Regions from separate parts of the Homo sapiens genome. Here all the other regions are linked to region 3. The links are contacts of gene promoters, found by promoter capture Hi-C in human tissues and cell types (Jung and others, 2019). All regions are on one chromosome and are shown on one strand. Each heading gives the region's core, a stretch centred on a gene start or on the middle of the fragment in contact. The rest is flanking DNA. Distances are from core to core; before and after follow the strand shown. Region 1 has its middle 18 kb from the start of BHLHE23. Region 2 overlaps DIDO1 (death inducer-obliterator 1). Region 3 holds the start of SLCO4A1 (solute carrier organic anion transporter family member 4A1). Region 4 holds the start of SLC17A9 (solute carrier family 17 member 9).

What was found. Contacts are between HindIII fragments. The study calls those that stand out against the background at their distance.
Region 1: a fragment that was not itself captured here is called in contact with the fragment with the promoter of SLCO4A1 in region 3 in 1 of the 25 tissues and cell types used here (lymphoblastoid cells).
Region 2: a fragment that was not itself captured here is called in contact with the fragment with the promoter of SLCO4A1 in region 3 in 2 of the 25 tissues and cell types used here (lymphoblastoid cells and spleen).
Region 4: the fragment with the promoter of SLC17A9 here is called in contact with the fragment with the promoter of SLCO4A1 in region 3 in 3 of the 25 tissues and cell types used here (dorsolateral prefrontal cortex, lymphoblastoid cells and spleen).

Annotation. Positions count from the first base shown.
Region 1 is chr20:62,987,486-62,990,817 of GRCh38, reverse strand. No RefSeq gene overlaps it. Among named protein-coding and RNA genes, the nearest start is that of BHLHE23, 18 kb to the left of the region's middle. The HindIII fragment of the contact is 8,596 bases long and covers 1-3,332 here.
Region 2 is chr20:62,900,716-62,903,983 of GRCh38, reverse strand. All of the region lies in intron 6 of DIDO1 (death inducer-obliterator 1), which reads left to right. Among named protein-coding and RNA genes, the nearest start is that of SNORA117, 19 kb to the right of the region's middle. RefSeq lists an enhancer at 3,193-3,268. The HindIII fragment of the contact is 5,054 bases long and covers 1-3,268 here.
Region 3 is chr20:62,640,792-62,644,090 of GRCh38, reverse strand. SLCO4A1 (solute carrier organic anion transporter family member 4A1) reads right to left here and starts at 1,588. Exons shown (of 12, transcript NM_016354.4): 1 at 1,538-1,588. It overlaps LOC124904949 (a long non-coding RNA gene), which reads left to right and starts at 1,754. Exons shown (of 2, transcript XR_007067711.1): 1 at 1,754-2,438; 2 at 2,745-3,299. RefSeq lists a silencer at 1,151-2,100. The HindIII fragment of the contact is 11,606 bases long and covers 1-3,299 here.
Region 4 is chr20:62,950,823-62,954,057 of GRCh38, reverse strand. SLC17A9 (solute carrier family 17 member 9) reads right to left here and starts at 1,349. Exons shown (of 13, transcript NM_022082.4): 1 at 1,169-1,349. The coding sequence starts at 1,227. RefSeq lists silencers at 1,129-1,228, 1,239-1,558 and an enhancer at 1,110-1,939. The HindIII fragment of the contact is 20,012 bases long and covers 1-3,235 here.

The DNA of each region.
Region 1 (3,332 bases), core at 440-2,939, 350 kb before region 3:
GTGTTGGAGATGAGGTGGGTGAGGGACTGATCGCTCTATAGCCCAGCTCAGGAACCGCCGTTGTGGAGTTGTTGGAGGTTGGGTGGGCTCAGGTACTAAGTGCCCACAAGCCGGCGCACTCCCCGCTGGGACCCTTAACCTAATCACGCGTTTTACCACGTTCACAGGCTGTGAAGAGCTGTGGAGATTGGGTGGGTCAGGTCCTAAGCACTCCGCAGTGCAAGCCACGAAGCCAGGCTCTCGTTCCCGTCTTGCAGATGGGGTGGTGGCGGGTGAAGGAGACCCAGGGCCTCCTGCTGCTTTCGGAGGAGCCGGAACTCAGGGCCCAAGGCAGCTGCAGGCAAGTCTCCCGGCTGGCCCCATAGAGGCAGCCCCTGCCTGGGGTGGAAAGTATGCAGGGAGGCGGCTCTCTGGCACACACCGACGCTCTCCTGGTCCAGGCATTTGCATTCTTGAACAGAAGGTCATGCACCCTCCACCTCAGGATGCTCAGACCAAGGAGCACGGAGGGTGGCCTTGCTGGGCTCTCCTGAAAGTCACAAGCACCTTGGAGGCCACCCCAGGAACGTTAGGAGAAGGCAATGCCAGCCGGGCCACCCCAGGAACGTTAGGAGAAGGCAATGCCAGCCGGGCCACCCCGGGAACGTTAGGAGAAGGCAATGCCAGCCGGGCCACCCCGGGAACGTTAGGAGAAGGCAATGCCAGCCGGGCCACCCCGGGAACGTTAGGAGAAGGCAATGCCAGCCGGGCCACCCCGGGAACATTAGGAGAAGGCAATGCCAGCCGGGCCACCCCGGGAACGTTAGGAGAAGGCAATGCCAGCCGGGCCACCCCGGGAACGTTAGGAGAAGGCAATGCCAGCCGGGCCACCCCGGGAACGTTAGGAGAAGGCAATGCCAGCCGGGCCACCCCGGGAACGTTAGGAGAAGGCAATGCCAGCCGGGCCACCCCGGGAACGTTAGGAGAAGGCAATGCCAGCCGGGCCACCCCGGGAACGTTAGGAGAAGGCAATGCCAGCCGGGCCACCCCAGAAGGGGCGTGTGTCAGTGGCTGGGAGGATGGCCTCAGTCCTCCATGTCCACGCCAGGAAACAGGTGTGGGGTCTGGGCTGATGCAGAGAAGACGAGCAGGGAAAGGGGTCCCGATCCAGACCCCAAGAAAGGGTTTTTGGGTCTCATGCAAGAAAGAATTTGCGGCGAGTCCATAAAGTGAAAGTAAATTAGGAAAGTAAAAGAACAAAAGAACGGGGACTCCATAGGCAGAGCCACCGCATGGGCTGCTGACTAAGGTCACTTACACGTATTTCTTGATTATATGCTAAGCAAGGGGTGGATTATTGATGAGTTCTCTGGGAAAGGGGTGGGCAATTCCCAGAACTGAGGGTTCCTCCCCTTTTTGGACCATATAGCGTAACTTCCTGATGTTGCCGTGGCATCTGTAAACTGCCATGGCACTAGCAGGAGCGTCTTTTAGCCGCTAACCTATTATAATTAGTGTGTAATGAGCAGGGCGGGTGAGCAGAGGCCACTCTTCTCACCGTCTTGGTTTTGGTCGTTTTGGCCGGCATCTCTACCACATCCTGTTTACCAGCAGGGTCTTTATGACCTGCATCTTGTGATACCAGTCCTGCCGACCTCCAATCTCATCCTGTGACTCCGAATGCCTCACCCCTGGGAGTGCAGCACAGCAGGTCTGAGCCTCATTTTACCCACTCCCTACTCAAGATGGACTCATTCTGCTTTGAGCCCCTCTGACCACAGTATTGGAGGAACAGGAATTGGGGTGCAGCTTAGCTGGGTGGTTTTCACAGGAGGTTGCTGTTGAGGTGCTGGCCGTGGCTCCGGTCATCTGAAGGACCCACTTCCAGTTGGGGTGTGGCTTAGCTGGACGTTTTTCCCAGGAGGTTGCTGTCGAGGGGCTGGCCATGGCTCATCTGAAGGATCCACTTCTAGGAGGGTTTCCGCGGCTGCAGGCAGGCGGCCTCTGTTCCTCGCCACGTGGACTCCCAAAGCGGGCAGCGCCTCACCTTGGAAGTCACACTGTCCCTTCCACCACTTCTTTGTTTTTCTTTTTTTTTTTTTGAGATGGAGTCTCGCTCTGTCACCCAGGCTGGAGTGCAGTGGTGCGATCTCGGCTCACTGCAACCTCCGCCTCCCAGGTTCAAGTGATTCTCCTGTCTCAGCCTCCCAAGTAGCGGGGATTACAGGCATGCGCCACCATGTCCAACTAATATTTTTGAATTTTTAGTAGAGACAAGGTTTCACCATGTTGGCCAAGCTGGTCTCCAACTCCTGACCTCCGGTGATCTTCCCACCTTGGCCTCCCAAAGTGCTGGGATTACAGGCATGAGCCACCGCACCCGGCCCCTTCCACCACATTTTATTCATGAGAAGCCAGTTGCTAAGTCTGGCTCACACTTAAGAAAACCTGCTTTTGAGGGAGGATTGTCCACAAAAATGGGGGACATTTTAAAACCACCACACTCAGATAGTTCACTGACAAGGATTTAAAGAAAACCACCAAGGCTGGGTACAGTGGCTCATGCCTGTAATCCCAGCACTTTGGGAGGCCCAGGTAGGAGGATAACTTGAGACCGGGAGTTGGAGACCAGCCTGGCCAACATGGTGAAACCCCGTCTCTACTAAAAAATACAAAAAGTAGCTAGGCGTGGTGGCGCACACCTGTAGTCCCAGCTACTCAGGAGGCTGAGGCAAGAGAATCACTTGAACCTGAGAGGTGGAGGTTGCAGTGAGATGAGATGGTGTCACTGCACTCCAGCCTGGGCAACAAAGGGAGACTCAGTTTCAAAAAAATAAAATAGAATAAAATAAAATAATATAAAATATAAAGAAAACCACCCAAAGATCCTTCCACACATGTAAAAATAATGATGGGGTCTAAATTCAACCTTCAGATGAGTCTCCGAGCTCTGGAGTTAGAAGCGAACATCCCAAAAGAGGGGCCACATACGAAGGAATGTCCATCATCGACCCTTCAAGACCAATCGCCGTCCTCTCTCGGGGGTCTTTGGTGACAATGACCTCTGTCCTCGGGGTGAGGTCTGTGCCCATCGCTCTATCCTCACTGTTCCTGTCCTGCAGGTACAAGTAGTTGGCTCGCACGCCTGGCTTTCATGACGCTGGATGGTCGTGTCCCCCGAGCTCCGTGTTCACCCGTGTCCTCAGGGTGGGGGCAGCCCGGGTGTGAGAATGTGATTGTGTTTTGCAGCTTTAGCAGGGGTCCCCGGGTCCCCCAGCTGTCTCTGCTGAGTCCCCCATCCCCATCCCCCCTGTGCCCACCCCTGCATGCTACGCTGGCTCTACCAATCCCCT
Region 2 (3,268 bases), core at 714-3,213, 260 kb before region 3:
TGAGGGGCTCTCAGCCCTGGGTTATTGCTTCCTGCCTGCCTCCTGCACTGTGAGCGGGGAGAGGTCGACCAGGAGGCTGCTCTTCTGCCCATAGCGGGGTACTCTGACCTCTTCTCCCTCTTCCCTTCTTTGCCACACATCAGCTCCTCTGGGAAGCTGATTTGCTCCAGGGACAGGAGGTGGGGGAAATTGCCTGTTAACCTTCCCAACACATCACCTCAAGTTAAAATTGGTGGATTTCCAGAATTTGTATAGGATGGGAATGGGGACGACACACTTTTGAGCTAGTAGCTTCTGCTCGTTTTGTTATCCCGTAAATGTTGTCTTCCCAAAAGGTGATTGATTGGAGCAGAGTTAGAGACATTGGTGACAGCAGCTACCATGTCTCTGCCTCTCCCCTAAACACCTCTGCACTTTTGTAGGCTCAACAAGTACTGGGGAGCCTGCCACCACTGTATGCCTTTGAGGCCCCTGCCCTGCCTCCCTGGCTGGCCACGGAGCTCGCCCTCCCTGGTAGGGGGTGAGTTTGGAAGTGAGAGGCTGGTGTGGGTCTGTCCCATGAGCTGACTCACACTTGCCTCACCACACATACCATCAGAAGACCCACGTGGTGGAGCTACCGCTGCTGCTCCCCACAGTGCACCTAGGCACCCTCCTGTCCTTCCCATGGCACTCGGTTGACCTGGGGGTTCCTGTCCAACAGGTGAGGCCTGGTGTGCACAGACACTCTGCCATTGCTAGAAGGAGGCTGTGCCCCCTGCTAAGATATCAGTAGGTCCTTCACAGCCTCACCTTGTTCCTCCCATTTGTTTTTAAAAATTGTTTCTTATATATACAGTTTATTTAGCTTACGTAAACATTTGGTGCACATAACTTCTCTCAAAGATCATGATGTTTCTTTTGTGGTTTTATAAATTCTTATTCCATTTTTTTCTCTTTATTTCCACTGTTCACCTCCCATTATTGTCGAGGCATGAAGTCAGTTGGAAATGTTTTTCTGAGATGTACCTGACTGACTAGAATTTTGAGATGGAATTCTCAAAATTTTGAGATGGTATTTGATAGGTGCAATTTCTAGTATTTTGTCTCCCTAAATGGCTCATTAAGTGACTTAAACACTGAGGATCTGAACAGATTTTGACTGCAAAGCAGATTCTACAGTTCGTTTCATCTAACCGTTGGAATTAAAATGGAAAACGTTGCCAGTTTGTAAACCCAAATCCAGATGCTGTGTTAAGCATGGTGCCCAGGTGGAAGCACTGCCTCTTGTTCCCACGTGCTGCCACAGAGATGGCCCTGGTGGGGTGAAATGGACGGAGAACACCGTTCACAAGGATAACTCATGGTGTGGGCTCCAGAAGCACATTTCACTGAAATCCTAAGAGGACCCAGTCTCAGTTTTCATTAATAAAAAATACATGGGGGGATTCTAGAACCTAAGAGTGTTTTGCAGGAATTTAAAGCCGGGAGAGGAGGGTGGCTTGTTTCACTGGTCGCGTGAGCTCTTTTTTTATCTGTCTCCTCCAGAGTTGTCAGCGGCAATAAAACGAGACTGGGAGTCATCAGACTCTACGTGTCCACCAATCTCTTCCTCCCAATTAGAAAAATCAGAATTTGTTCTGAGAAAGAATATAGCTTGATAGTTGTTTTTTTACGTTATCCATATAACTGGAAGTTTCTTGGCTGTCAGTAATGACATTCTTTTGTTATTTTTAAGTGTTTTACTTTTTATAAACTTAAAAAGCAGCCTGCCATTGAGAAAATTACATCAGGGAAAGGTTTCACACCTCCGTAACCGTGACCCTGCACGGTGAAGTCCCACATCAGCACCGTCCCGTGGTGCCCCTGTCCATCCCTCAGGTGCCCCTTTGTGCTTATGCTTCAGCCACCTTGGGCAGGTGGGGTGCAGGGATGGAAGTTTCCAGCAGGATCGGTCCCCCTGAATTCACCACCTCTTCAGTGACCTTCATAGGACCTTTCGGAGCTGTGGATCTACTCATAGTCTAAAGATGAATACTCGGGAAAGCCTCCTCGGCATTCTCGGTGTCACAGAGTGCAGAGGTCAGCTCTGAAGACGCCTGCTACAATTCCTCCAATGTGGTACACAAGTTTCAGGTAGATTTGTATAAAGTTGTAAAATAATACTAGGTTTTTTTTTTTTTTTTTCTGTTAACACATCAACATACACATAGTTATATTCTTAGCTTCTAAAAGTTAGAGAAGTAACTTAGAATATTGACAAGAATTTTTGCTACTTATTTAAATGAAGGTTGCGGCAACTTTCATTTGCCGCAAACCTGGAAGAGTTCGGCAAGAAGAGCTTAAGGTAACTGGCTTTATCCTCAACTGACCTGCTTGGTGCTGTCAGCTAGGGGCTTTATACTGAGTATGGCCCTTTAGGACTGGAGGGATTACAGGGGAGGGTTGTGGACTAATTTTAACATGCCCCTAACATGTTGGTTTAAGTAGTAAACAACTTAGATAAAGGTTAAATTACTCGTGTGGGAGATCTTGGGAAGAGCAGCAGCTCTGCTCCCAAATGGGCTTGGCAGCCAGGCACACACCATGTGCAGCTGGGCACAACTGAAATTGCAGTTGAGTGGAACGTCCATCTGTCCACGTGGCCCTCATCACACGAGTTTCTTAGGGAGAATTACACACCTCTCCATTAAGTTGGAAGGCACTCAAGTAGCGGGTATTAGTAAGAAAACTGACCAAGGAAAGCTTTGAGTATTCCAAAACACGGCAGTCTAGCTGTGGACCCTGCAAGGGCGTCCTGGCTGTAGTGATGGTCTCCTCTGAGGAGCGTCTGCGATGTAGTCTGCCTGCTGTATTTGGGAAGTAACTGTTTCCCCGCAACATGAAAGCAAACTAGTAACTACTTATAAAAGGCGAATTCATGTGAACACATTCTAGCATGTTGAGAGGAGCAAAAGCAGAACATTTTCTCTTGCCGCTGCCACCTTGATTGTTCCCACTAGGGGCAATCTTGGAGTGAAGAAACAGGTAAAGCAGGAAACTGCATTGTTGTACACACGCCTCACTGAGGGCTGCAAATAGGCCTGACGTCACAGTGAACAGAATTTACTTCCACAGTTCCTTCACTGACTGTTGAGTCTGTTTTCAGGTGCATAGCATAGAAACAGCCCTTAGAGCTGTAGCGGATGGTGATAGGCAGGATTCAGGACACCGTGGGAGACCAGTGGAGGTCTGAGTGCCCCAGCTTCCCTAAACCAGCCAGCAGTACCGCGACAGGGCAGGCCACTTC
Region 3 (3,299 bases), core at 339-2,838:
CTCTTGGGACGCTGTTCTGGGTCTCCGGCCTGACCCTGCAGTCGCCTTTTGCCTCTTTAAGAACAGAGTCGTAAAACAGGAGCCCAAGCCTGGATCAGACAAACCTGGAGTCAGACCTCTTCAGCACTTACAAGCTGTGTGGCCTAGAGTCAATCACTTAACCTCTTGGTGCCTCAGTTTACTCATCTATAAAGTGGGAGTGATAATGGCCACCTCGTGGGGTTGCTAGGGACTGAATGAGACGATGCTCAAAGCAGGGGTACCATGCCCGGCACATTCCAGCACTCAACACCTAACCCCTGCTGTCACTGTCCTTGTCATTATTACCAGATTCACAAGCGGAGCCGGCTAAGGCCAAGGAGCTGTCCTCTGAGATCCATTTGCTCCCGCTGCTGGGAATGAAAACGTCGCTGACACCGGGCTCTGCAGAGCCAGTTTCTGATTAGATGGAGGTAACCCAAGTTCCAAAAACCACAGCTGAGGAGCAGCAGCTGACAAGCTGGTTGCATGGATGTGGAAAACTACCGCGTTCCAGCCGCCTCCAGACAGAAACAGGACGCATAGCCAGGTCCCACGGCAGCTCCAAAGAGGGCCTTGCACGCCAAGCGGGGCACCCCCCAGCCTGAGGGTTCACCAACCACGCGGACCACGCGGAAACCTAGCTGGGCTTCTCTCTCCCCTCGGGGCGCCAGTGCGGGAGGCGGTTTCTCCCTTGGAAGTGGAAGTCAGATCTGCTTCCAGGTTCCCGGTCTAGGGCCGGTCTAGGGCAGCTAAGCCTGCCTGCTCCTTCCTTTCCATCCTCCCTGGTCAGGGGAGCCCAACAGCAACGCGAGGGCACCCGACCCTCTGCCTGCACCTGGAGGGCGCCCGGGTCCCCCCAAGCCACGGCCAGGACGTCGCGTGGTGGGGCAGGGAAAGGGGCGCCGCCGCTGCTGGAAACTAGCCCTGTGCGCTCCGCCCGCGCTCCCCTCCCGGAGATGTCTCGAGCGCCTCTGGCGCGAACAAAGCCCGGCCGCCCCCGAGAAACTTCCGTGCATGAAGGTTTCCTCCTTGACTCGGCAGCAGCGGCCGCCGCAGGTGGGTGACTCCGCAACTCTGGAGCTCCGCGGAGGCGCGTTCGTCCCCAGCTGGATCTGTGGGGCCTGCGCCTGCGCGCGCTCCGGGCCACCTGCCCAGGTCACCTGCCCCGGCCACTCCGACAGTCCCTGCCAGGGCCGCAGCCCCTGCTCACCCGCTTCCCCCCGGCACCCGCTGCAGCGTGGGGCCCCTTCGCCTCGGTCCTCCTGCGGGCGACTCGGGAGCTCCTACCTGCGCAGCCGGCGGCGGGAAGCGGCGAATTTGGCCTCCGATTCCGCTCGGTCCTGCCCTCCCCCGCGGAGAGGCTCGGGGCGCTCGGCCGGTGCCCAGGCCTCCCGCCCCCGCGCGCATCCCCCCGGCGCTCCAGCCCCTGCCCACGATGGCGGCACCTGCCGCGCTCCTACGCCAGCAGGTCGGGCCCTGTGCACCCGCGCCAGCTCCCCGCTCCCCGCGCACTCACCGTCCCCGTCTCGAGGGCCCGGCCGCCGCGCCGCGCAGCGCTCCACGCTCTGGCCTCCCCGGCAGCCACGCGCCGCTTCATTCATCCGCTGGGGCCGCCCCCGCCGCAGAGGGAGGGGCGGGGTTTCCTGCGCGGGGCCCGCCTCACCCCCCACGGCCAATGGCAGCGGCGACCGCCCCCTCCTCCCCCCCAGGGCACAGAGGCGGGAACGCGCGGCGGGGGACCAGGGCGTCTCTCTCCGGAGCGCTGCCGCCTCCTGGACTCCCCGCTCCAGCTCCAAGGACCGGCATCGCTGCCGCAGCCGGGAGGCCGAGAACGCGCGGTGGCGACGCCGCCCCAGGCCACGCGGCGAGGCGGTTCCGAACGGACTCGGGATTCGCTCCTGGGCGCTGTGGGGCCGAGTGGAGCCAAGCGGCCGTTTTTCAGCTCCGCCCTTCCGAAAGGCTGCCGCAGGGTCGGGGCCACGTGGGGCCCGCGGCAGAGGGGCTGGGGGAACGCCACGGGCGGCCCTGGTGAAGGTGCCCGCCGGTCTCGGCCTGACCCCCAGGCCCTGTTCTGGCACGCGCCCCACCTGCGCGCACAGTGAGACCGGCGCCCTAGCCTGGGAATCCGGGGAATCTCCAGCCCGTTGCCTTTTCCATAACCCCGTCTTCTTTTTCACACTAGCTCTGAGGGTGGAAGGCAGGGAGGTGCCAGCCACGTTCCCTTCCACAGAGGGAACTCCCTGTTGGAATTCCTACCCCGGCTTCCTGCCGTCTGTCCTGGAACACATTGCTCCAGGCCTCCGAGCCTCAGTTTCCTCGTTTGCAAAATGGGGGCGATAACAGAGCGTCCTCAAAGGGGATAAGACGGAAGAAGTTGGCTCATATCAGGGCTCATAATTGTTGCCAAGTATTAACAGGTAACCACAATCACACTCCACAAAGCTTCCCTTTTAGTGTCAGTGAAATTAATTTAAAAGAAGTTTCCGAAAGTCAAGTGTGTGTGTGTGAATCCTGAGATAAGTCAGGTAAGGGGGGAAATGACCACCTCACGGCCCCAGGCTGGTGAGGAAGTCCTAGCCACGGAGGCGGTGCTGCAGGACCTGGCCTGGTGGCATAGCGTGGCGGGCGGGTTCACCGTGGAGAGACGAAGGAGGTGCTGCGGCTTGTGAGAAAAGGCCCACAACCCCATGCAGTTATTTATGAAATGGTTTTCCTTCCTCCAGGGCTTGGGGCTCCTGCCCACTCGTATCAGGTCCCGGGACCCCCCCGGTGGTGTCCTCAGGGCTCCCGCCGTCCCAGGCCGCCCTCCACTTCTGGAAGCAGACACGAGGCCACGAGACCCACTGCTTTTGGGTATCTGCTTTCATTCCTGACACTGCCCTTTAAGAGAAAAAAGTACCCACATTGTTCCCAGATGGAGAGGGTCCCTCCCAGAGGGTGAGGCACTGCCACAGGGGCTCACGGCCCTGCCAGGAGTGGAAGGTGCACACCCAGAAGTATTTCTCCTGTGAAGGAAGGGGGCTGAGCTTCGCTGCAGACCTGGCCTCAGGTGTGGATGAGCTTCGCTGCAGACCTGGCCTCAGGTGCGGAGTCTGCGGGAGCAGCATTTCCAGGCAGACCTGACAGAAGGTGCCTTTGAGAGGTGGTGAGCTCCGTGTTACAGGAGGCTTGTGAGCACAGGTAGCCCATCTTCTGGTGATGATGCTGGAGAAGCAATTCAAATGTCAGAAGCAGGACTGGACTCTGTTTCCAAAACTCACGTCTGGATTCTACCCCCT
Region 4 (3,235 bases), core at 100-2,599, 310 kb before region 3:
AACATCGAGCCTGGGAGGGACGTAGTGAAGGCGGAGCCACTCAAACCAGCCGCCAGTGAGGAGGCCCTGAATCCCTGGGGAGCTGGCCCTGCCCGGCAGGCCTGGATGAACGTGGGTGGGGGAAGAGGAAGAGAGCAAGGGGCAGGGCCCGCTGAGGGCAGCCCTCCCCTCTAATTGGCGCCTGACAGGGCTGTGATCTGGGCTGCCAGCTTTTCCCATGCAGCCAGCGCTCCCTTCATCTGGGTGCCAACATCCGATGGTGGCACTGCCCCTTTGGGCCTTCCTACAACTCTTCCCAGCACTTCTAGGGTCCTCAGCCCTCATACAGCTGGGAACTGGTGGGGCCAGAAGGTGCCATTACCTTGCCATGGTCAGGGTAGGTACCCTGGGGACTCAGTGCAGGCAGGAGACTGCTCTGGAACCCACAGGGCCTGAGTCTAGGCCCAGGGTCCAGCCACTTAAGGCCTCAGCCCAAGACCCAGAGCCAAGGGGTTCAGCAGTGTGGGGGCTGCTCTCAGGAGCTCCCTGGCAGAGGCCCTCCCCAGCTGACCAATGGCCCGCGGTCACCATCTCGCCCGGTTTCTGAGGCGTCACCTGCCCAGGGAGCCTCCTACAGGCAGCAGTGCTGGTGGCCAGGCGACCTGCCCAGGCCCTGCTTCTCCCCACCACCAAATGCTCCGAGAGCTGAAGCCAGCGGGGAGCTCGTCCTCAGCACACAGCTGGCACGTGGTGGCAGGACCCCCCCCAACCCCGTCCAGCTGCAGGCTCCAGCCCGTGCCCCCTACCTGGCCTCCTGACTGTCCTGGCGCCTGCTTGTCAGGGTCATGCATACACAGGGTGGTTCCACCTGGCGAGGGGTATGCCTCCTGACTGTCCAGGACAATGCCCCTGGCCTGGGGAACATAGCCCTGCCTGGAAGAGCCCCAGGAACACTGGCTGGGATAGGGCACTTGCCAGGTCCGGTCCTGGAATCTCATGGCAGGGAGGAAGGACAGGGCACTCACTTCCTTCCACCTCCCACAAGGAACACAGGGGGCCCCACAGCCAGAGGAGCCCGCCCAGCTCAGCCCTCCCCACCTAGCATCGTCCCACGTGGCAGTATCTCAGCTCCCTCCCCACGGCCCCATCTCCACCGCTCCCACCCCCCCTCCCCTCACCCCCGCCACACCTGGACCACTGGGTGTCCCCGGCCATGTCCCTGCGGGCCTCGTCTGGGGGTGGCTGCATCGGGCTTGGGGTGCTCAGACGGCGTGGGCACAGCTGTGTCCCGGGGCTGCCTCCCAGCCCAGGCTGACCCACCCGGGCAGCACCGCCCAAGTCCACGTGTCAGTCCCAGCGCGCTTCCGTCTGGTTCTCTCAGGACTTGTCGCCCCCAGACGGCCACCAGGGCGGGCAGGCGGGGCAGGGCGGGGCATACCACTCGGGTGCCCGCCCCACCCTGCTGACGTCGGTCCCTGCTGCCCCATAGGAGCGGGGCCAACGGTCGCCCTGGCTGGGTCGCCCTGACTGTCCGACGCGCCCTGGCTCAGCCCCAGCAGAGGTTAGTGTGGGGGCAGAGGGGGATTCCCAGCAGCAGGCCGGTCAGACTGGGGCTTCAGAGAAGGGCCCTGGTGGTAAGCCTGGTCCAAGAGGTGCCAGCCCATCCCTTGGACACGACACGGAGCCATGGGGCCGTCTGTCCTCTGTCTATAAAATGGGGAATGATGGCAGTCCCTGCCTTACCGATCAAATAAAATCAGGGATAAAGTCTTAACCAAGTGCAAAGAGAGTAAAAGTACAGGGTCACTGATTTTTAAAATGGATCTTTCGGGGCAGGGATGGGTCCACTCCTGAGCCCTTGGACCAAGCCTGGGAGAGCTGGACAAATCCAGCGCTGGCCCATGTCTTCTCAGCAGATGCCTGTGAAGGTTGTCATTGGCCCCTGGGTTCCTGGACAAAAGGTGTCCTGAGGACCCATCACAGGCCAGGTTCTGGGCTCGGGGGCAGGGGTGACGGGGTGGGGCCCCCACTCTGTGTGCTCCTGCTGCCATGCCAAGGATGAAGCCAGCAGGGGAAGGCCTCAACCATGCAGCCTTTCCCCAGGAGGCGGCAGGGCCTGCTCCTCAGGCGTTGCCCCCACCTCCACTAGGGCCCACCTCAGTCCATCCTCCACGCAGCAGCCACCACCCAGGGGCCGAGGGAGACACGTCTAAGGCAGGGCCTTGCACTTAGAACAGACCCACATTTACCCCCTCCCTCCCCCTAGCCCTCAGGTCTCCAACAGCCCAACCCACTGCACTGCAGGGCCTGCTCCCAGGGCCCTCTGAACAGAAAGACACGGGCACCCTGAAAAGCAAGGTCATACTTTCATCCATCCTGACGTAGGGTAGGTGAAAAGATGGTGGCAGAGAGAGGTTTATTGCCCCAAACAGCCCTAGCCCATAGCCAGGAAGTTTGGAAACTGTTGCTAAACGTATCGCTGTCAACAGCACCCTCTTTGAGGTGATTCGCTTCCATTCACTCTGTGATGGTGATTTCCTACCGAGATCTGTGATCATGCTGCAGCAGACATTTGCCATCTGGTTACCCAAAGTCCCCTTCCTCCTGGAGCTGATGTTCTGGGGCAGGTAGACAAAAATCAAAGTAGTGAAAGGGGTAGGGAAGGGGTGTTACTTCAAATAGGTTGGGCTGAGGAGGCACCCCTGGACACCTGAGTGAAGGCTGGATGAGCTGAAGAAACGGGCCATGCAGGGATGGCTGGGTGGGTGAAGGGGCCATCTCACAGGGACATTATAAAGCTGGGTGCTGGTAGTGGCCAGATGGAGGCTCTCCACGCTTCTGGTGGATTCTGAGAGCTGCCCCGCACCCAAGCATCTTTGAGGCCTAAGGTGAAAAATTATGTAGGGACAATAGACAGTCAACACCTGGGTTTTCAAGGACACAGGGTGACCTTGCGGACAGGGCAGTCACAGCCAGCACCCACTGGCCTCTGCTTCTGGAAGGCTGCGTGCCTCCCTCTTGTTGGGCCTGGCCCACCTAACTTCTTGTTTATTTCAAGTGCTGCTATAGGGAGACGATGCTAGAGATTTTCCTAAAGCAAATCCACACCTCACTACGTATGGCGCCCGTTGCTCAGCCTCTGCATCCACACCCCCCACAGACGCCCCAGGAGACCCCGCACAGCTTCTTGTAAACCAAGACAAGCCAGCCCTGGGCCTGGGGCTCCTCCCTGCACCCCACTTAGCCCTGCAACCTT